Regions from separate parts of the Homo sapiens genome. Here region 1 is linked to region 2. Evidence: promoter capture Hi-C in 16 types of primary human blood cells and fetal thymus (Javierre and others, 2016). All regions are on one chromosome and are shown on one strand. Each heading gives the region's core, a stretch centred on a gene start or on the middle of the fragment in contact. The rest is flanking DNA. Distances are from core to core; before and after follow the strand shown.

Region 1 (3,376 bases), core at 877-3,376, 120 kb after region 2:
AAAACAAAAAATGAATTTTGTTATATCAGCAATTATTACAAAACTAAGGAAGAAAGATAAAGTTGAGAAAATTAAAAGAACTAAGAGATAAAGTTATCCTCACATTGTACTAGAGGTTTATAATGAAAAGTATTGAAAGGGATAGAGGTAATTTCAGCCATACTTGGAATTTCTTCGTGGCATTACTCTTAAGAGTCTAGAGCTTCACTCTCCGATATGATAGTCACTGGCCACATGTCTCTTTAAATCTAAGTTTAATTAAATTTAAATATAAAATTCAGTCCATCAGCTATGCTAGCCACAATTCAAGTGTTCAATTGGGCAGTGCAGATATAGAACTTTTCTATCATGACATTACTAGACAGTGTTGGTCTGGAGACTTAATAGTTCATTTATTATAATGCATGAAATTTAAATGTTTTTTAATTTTAAAGAGAAAACAAAGGGAATAACTTGCTTTTAAGCTATTGGATAGTGTTACAATAATATTTTTAAATGAATTGTGTTGAATTTTGCTACAGTAGTCGTTTTGTGTTTGTACCTGGTCCAGAGGATCCTGGATTTGGTTCCATCTTACCAAGGTAAGTTTTGTTCAGATTTTTGCAACAGTGTAGAAAATTTTGTAAAACTTAAAAAGATAAACTATATCACATAAATTGTTTTTATAGGCCACCACTTGCTGAAAGCATCACTAATGAATTCAGACAAAGGGTACCATTTTCAGTTTTTACTACTAATCCTTGCAGGTAAGAATTAGTATTTTGTGTTATACATTTTTCCTTTCATTTAAAAATTAGCCAGGTGTGGTGGCTCATGTCTGTAATCTCAGCACTTTGGGAGGCCGAGGCAGGCAGGTTGCTTGGAGTTCCGAGACCAGCTTTGGCAACACAGTGAAACCCATCTCTACAAAAAGTACAAAAATTAGCTGGGCTTGGTGGCACGCGCCTGTGGTTCTATGAAGAGGCTGAGATGGGAGGATCACTTGAGCCTGGTAGGTGGAGAGGTTGCTGTGAGCTGAGAATGCACTACTGCATTCCAGCCTGCAGCCTGGGCGACAGAGCAAGACCCTGTCTCAAAAAAACAAAAAACAAAAAAACAAAAAAAACAAAAAACAAAAAAACTAACTTGATTCCTAAAATGTGTCTCTGAATTTCGACTGTTATGGAATAAATATAAGAAGAAAATTTATTTTTGTTTTAGGTTTCTCAAAACTTTGAAAATAGTTTAACTATATTTAAATAATTTATTGGTAGTCAATTCAGACTCTTGAATAATGGATAGCAGTTTAAAAATAGATATTATTACTACATATCCTTTAAGAAAGGTTACAAAGGAAGAATACAAAGATTACTTATTTACTGTTCGTATTGCTCATTGTAATCATAAGTTCTTCCTGTGGGAATACCATCAGAGGCAGCCTTGGTTCGCCTCTTTTCTGCCTACATTCACTCCTTTGCTGGCCTTCTCCAGTGTCCTCTGGCTTTAAGTATCATCTGTGTATTGACACCTTCCACATTTATATTTCCACTTCAACCTACCTTCCAAACTCCAGACTCAGGTATCCAGTTGCCTACTTATCACCATCCCAACCTAAGTGAACTCCTGATCTTCCTCCCCACGAGTGTCCCTAACCTCTTCTGTAGACTTCTCCATGTTAGTTCATGACACCTTCATGGTCTGAACAATGATTATTCCAGTTGTTCAGGCCAAACACTTTGGGGTTTCTCTCACATGTTTTTTCAGGAAGTCCCATTAACTTCAAATTATATCCAGAATCTGCTCTCTCTCTATACCTCTACCTCCACAACCCTCTACCACAGTGGTCCCCAACCTTTTTGGCACCAGGGACTGATCTTATGGGAGACAGACGCCAGGGGGGGTGGGGGTGATTTTGGGATGATTCAAGCGTATTACACTTATTGTGCACTTTATTTCTATTATTATTACATTATAATATATAATAAAACAATTATACAACTTACCATAATATAGAATCAGTAGGAGCCCTAAGCTTGTTTTCCTGAAACCAGACGGTCCCATCTGGGGATGATGGGAGACAGTGACAGATCATCAGACATTAGATTCTTATAACGAGTGTGCAGCCTAGATCACTCACGTGTACAGTTCACAACAGGATTCGTGCTCCTGTGAGAATCTAATGCCCCTGCTGATCTGACAGGAGGCAGAGGTCAGGATGTAATACAACCGATGGGGAGTGGCTGTAAATACAGATGAAGCTTTGCTTGCTTGCAGCCTGCTGCTCACCTCCTGCTGTGTGGTCCAGTTCCTAACAGACCATGGACTGGTACCAGTCCATGGCCTGGAGGTTGAGGAGCCCTGCTCTGCCATCTTCTCGGCCTGGATTATTACAATAGCCTCCTAATTGGTCTCCAGCTTTTACTCCTTCCCCTCCGTATTCTATTCTTTTTTTTTTTTTTTTTTTTTTTTTTTTTTTTTTTTTTTTTTTTTTTTGAGACGGAGTCTCGCTCTGTTGCCCAGGCTGGAGTGCAGTGGCGCGATCTCGGCTCACTGCAAGCTCCGCCTCCCGGGTTCATGCCATTCTCCTCTCCGTATTCTATTCTTAACGCAGTGTGAAAGTGATCCTGTAAAGCATAAGGCATATCCCATCCACCTTCCCGATCCTGGAAAAAGGGACCCTCATTGGAAAAAGGGACCCCTCGTGATTTAGTGACAGCCGTATCCTTGCAGTGGTAATCAAGGCCCTGTGTTATCTGGCTCCGTTACCTCTCTGATTTCCTCTCCTCCCCATTTACTCCAGCCACACTAGCCTCCCTTCTGTTCCTCAAGGATGCCAGGCGAGCTCCAGTCTGAGGGCCTGGGCTCCATCTGTTCCCTTTGCCTGCAGTGCGCTTCCTCTGGGTATCTGCTTGACTAAGTCCCTCTTCCGCTTCAAGCCTGTGCTCAAGTCACACTAAATTATGAGCCCGGCCTGTTCTGATCATCCTATTAATATGCCCGCCTTCTAGGCTCTCTCTTACCACATATGCTGTCCCTCTTAGCCTGTCTTTTTCTTTTTCTCTTATGCTTAATTATCTTAAAACATACTATATGATTATGTTCGCTTTTTATTTTCTCAGCCCCACCCCCTACTAGAATGTAAACTGTATGAGGGCTGGGATCTTTTGGTTCTGTTCGCTAATCCCTAGAATGGGGTAGGCATATATTAAGAGCTCAATACATAGCTGTTAAATGAATAGATGAATAGACAGACTCTGGTTGAAGTTTTGTGTGGTGAACAGTGAATGTGGGAATGGGGTTGTATTGTAAGAGATTTTACCTTTAAAATTAATATCATTTTTTTCTGAGAAGTCAAATTCAACTACTGTTTTCATTTCAGAATTCAGTACTGTACACA
Region 2 (3,485 bases), core at 254-2,753:
CCCCTTTCTATTTTCTAACCACATTCATTGGAAACTGGGGAAAACACTGCAGATTCATTAGGATTGGCAAAAAATTACTTTTGCAGTTAAACCAAAATAAAGTATCAGGACAGCCATCTTTGAAAGCTATCTCAAAAATGGTCAACTATGATCAAGTCAGCTGTACCATAAGCTAAAAACAATCACAAAGCAAGTCATCCAAGGCACGGGCGTGGGGAGGGCGGAGAACATTTTCAAGACCAAAGAGGAATTTTGTGGTAGGACTGGCTCAGAGCCATCCTAGCAAATAAAATTCTAGATTTCCGAGGTTAGCAGGGTAAAGAATGGCAACTGGCTTTAAACTGCTAACTAATCACGTTGTTTATAACCAGGGGATCGGAGAGTCAAAGAGCTGCACTCTGTAGTTCATTTGATGCTGGGGATTTTTTGGTTACTGGTGGAGCTTTTCCATTATCTTAATAGGGGTGTCTGCTGAAAAACTTCAACCCAGCTGAAGCCAGAAGGAAAACAGTCCTGATGGCCATTTGCACAGGCGGGAAGGCTGAATAAGGTGGTTCCTGTAACCTTTTGGAATTCCAGTTTTCCTACACCTCGGCCTCCCTGTAAGTGGGCAGCGGTTCCCAGCTCCAGAGGGTGAAGTCCTCGTAGGCCGTCCTCATAACGCGTCTGAGTGATATCACACACCGTCACCTTTCACACCCCAACCCTTCCGAATGCACCGCCCAAGCAACATTAACAGGGCCTTCCCCGGAATAACGCTCCAATGGCAACAACGGGGGTGGGAGTGAGTTGGCTTTGTGAGCACCAGGGTGACATGACAGCAGCCCTGGAGGTTCGAGACGGGTTGGGGTACTCGAGAGAAGGAAGATTCCCGCGCGCAAAAAAAAAACAACCAACGGGCAGAGTCTGAGGTGGGGCGCGCGACGCAGGCGGGGAGCGCCCTCGGCGGCCCGCTCTGGCCTCCCCGCCTGGCCGCGAACGCAGACCCGAGTCACAGCCGAGCGACGTCCGTCGCGGCCCGGCCACTCACTGACCTTGTAGCCGCCCCAGACGAACATGTGGCGCCCGTCGCTGACGGCTACGTGGCCGCTGCGCTCAGCGGGGCAGGCAAGCTCCATGGACTCATAGCTCTCGAAGGCTGGCCCAGGCAAGTCGTCAGCCCGCAGATCCTCGTTGCCATCAGCCATCTTGAGGCTGCACTTTTGCTAACCAACAATGCCCACACCCGCGAGGGGCCAAAAAAACAAAGGAAAAGGAGAGAAATGCACAGCGGCGCGAGGCAAGGAAAAGGCGGTGGCGAAAGGGACGGCGTTGAGGCCTCTCTGCCGCCTGCGCTCGCGTTTCCCAGCCTCCTCGGCCGAGGACGGCTCTCCGCCGCCGCCGGGGCACGCCTGCAGACAGAGGGGCCGCGAGCGGAGCCGGGCGGCGGCGGCGCGGGCCCGGGACTCGGGGCACTGCAGGGAAGCGGTCCGCGTCGGGCCGGCTCCCTATTGCAGCCCGTCTGCCCCGCCTCCTGCAGTCCACGGCCTTGTTTACGCCGCGGCCGGAAGCCGCCCGTTCCGCTGACGCCGCCCGCCGAGCTCCGGAAGCGAGGCTGCCGCTCAGCGCCCCCAGCGCCGGGTCCTCCAGCCGCCGCCGCCGCCGCCGCCGCCTCTGCCCGCGCCTCCGCCTACGGCCTGGGCACCGCAGATCTATGGGGCCCGGCGACTTCTAGTCGCGCTTCGAGTCTCCTTTCACTGAGGGAACCACAGGGATAATGTCCTGAATCGGTCCCTGAAAGCTGCTGAATTTTAGCCGGATTGCCGCAATTTTTTTTTTCTTCCCGAGGATTTCTATTCGTTTGATTGAGGGATGATCTCAGAGGGTTCACAGCCCGGGCAGGGGCACCAGAATTGCTCCACTAGCAAGTTTCTGGTCTCGCCTTAGAGTCGATGCAGGCCCTGCTGTTCTGCGGGCGCGAGGGCAGTCGCTTAGCTCTCACGTGGGGCCCAGCCCGATCCCCGGGGGCCTCTCCTGAGCTCCTGCCGCCCCTGCCGGGCGCCGCCTCTGCGGGAATCTGACGTTGCCGCCGCCGCCGCTGCCGCCGCCAGCCGGGCTGCAGAGTTGGCTTGAAAAGCGTTTCCGAAGCCGTAACCACCCTTTTCTTCAGAAAGAAAGGCGGATCCTTTTCACGCACACACAGCTTTCTCTTATATGATACCTTTCAATTGGGCCAAAAGAAAATTACGAGTTACTGTGCTTGATACCTCACCTGTAAAATAGGGTGGGACAAAAATAATCTTAAATTCTTGATCTTACAGTGCCTGTAGAATTTATCGTGTTTGGTAGGAGGGACGTGCTTCATTATCTCCATTTCCCTCATCTTCTGGTTGGGAGCACTCCATAGAAAAGGAACACTTTGAACAATAAAAGGCTTTTTTTTTTTAATTATTAAAATGCTTATAGCCTGCCACTCCTCCCCTAGTGTGCCAGTGTGTTTACTTGAACTCAAGAACTTGAAAGTTACTTAAGAGGATTAATTAAAGCCTTCAACAAGGAAGCAAATCACCTTGAGGCTGTTAAGACCTTATCTGCCATCCACCCTGGTTGGTGCCCTCAAATCTGTCTGGTTCACAGAATTCCTTGCAGCAGTGTCTTCTCCCAGTCGAATTATGCTCACTAGACTTTGGGGTTATCGAAGTTCCTTGTGAACCAACCTCGTGAATCTGATCGAGTCACTTAAAAACCTTGAGCTGGCTCCCGTCGTCCTTAGTAGAATCCAAAATTAATATCTCGGCTGGGCGCGGTGGCTCACGCCTGTAATCCCAACACTTTGGAAGGCCGAGGCAGGCGGATCACCTGAGGCCAGGAGTTCGAGACCAGCCTGGCCAAAATGGCGAAACTCTGTCTCTACTGAAAATACAAAAAAATTACACAGGCTTGGTGGCCGGCGCCTGTAATCCCAGCTACTTGGGAGGCTCAGGCAGGAGAAACTCTTGAAGCCGGGAGGCGGAGGTTACAGTGAGCCAAAAGGGCACCATTGCACTCCAGCCTGGGCAACAAGAACGAAACTCCGTCTCAAAAAAAAAAAAAAAAAAAAAAAAAAATTCATATCACAGTGCTGTGCAAGAAGACCCAGCATGGTCCAGACCCAGCTTGCCTTTCCAGCTTCAATTCCTGGCTGTGTCCTCCTTCCAGCTACATTACCCTTCTATCATCGTTTTTGTTTTTTGTTTGTTCGAGAGAAGTCTCGCTCTTGTCCCCCAGGCTTGAGTGCACTGGCTCGATCTCGGCTCACTGCAACCTCCGCCTCCCGAGTCCAAACGATTCTCCTGCCTCTGCCTCCCAAGTAGCTGGGACTAAGGCACCTGCCACCACGCCCGGCTGATTTTTGTATTTTTTAGTAGAGATGGGATTTCACCATGTTGGCCAGGCTGGTCTCGAACTCCTGACCTCAGGTGATCCACCCGCCTCGGCCTCTCAAAGTGCTGGGATCACAGGCGTGA

What was found. The method cuts DNA at HindIII sites, captures the fragments that hold promoters and counts their contacts. A CHiCAGO score of 5 or more calls a contact.
Region 1: a contact is called between a fragment that was not itself captured here and the fragment with the promoter of KLHDC2 in region 2, in 1 of 17 cell types (megakaryocytes). The highest score is 5.4, in megakaryocytes.

What each region holds. Positions count from the first base shown.
Region 1 is chr14:49,651,360-49,654,735 of GRCh38, reverse strand. POLE2 (DNA polymerase epsilon 2, accessory subunit) reads left to right here. Exons shown (of 19, transcript NM_002692.4): 14 at 522-581; 15 at 669-746; 16 at 3,359-3,376. Among named protein-coding and RNA genes, the nearest start is that of DNAAF2, 18 kb to the right of the region's middle. The HindIII fragment of the contact is 226 bases long and covers 2,014-2,239 here.
Region 2 is chr14:49,766,171-49,769,655 of GRCh38, reverse strand. It overlaps KLHDC2 (kelch domain containing 2), which reads right to left and starts at 1,503. Exons shown (of 13, transcript NM_014315.3): 1 at 1,035-1,503. The coding sequence starts at 1,187. RefSeq lists silencers at 1,274-1,453, 1,624-1,703, 2,044-2,103. The HindIII fragment of the contact is 13,494 bases long and covers 1-3,485 here.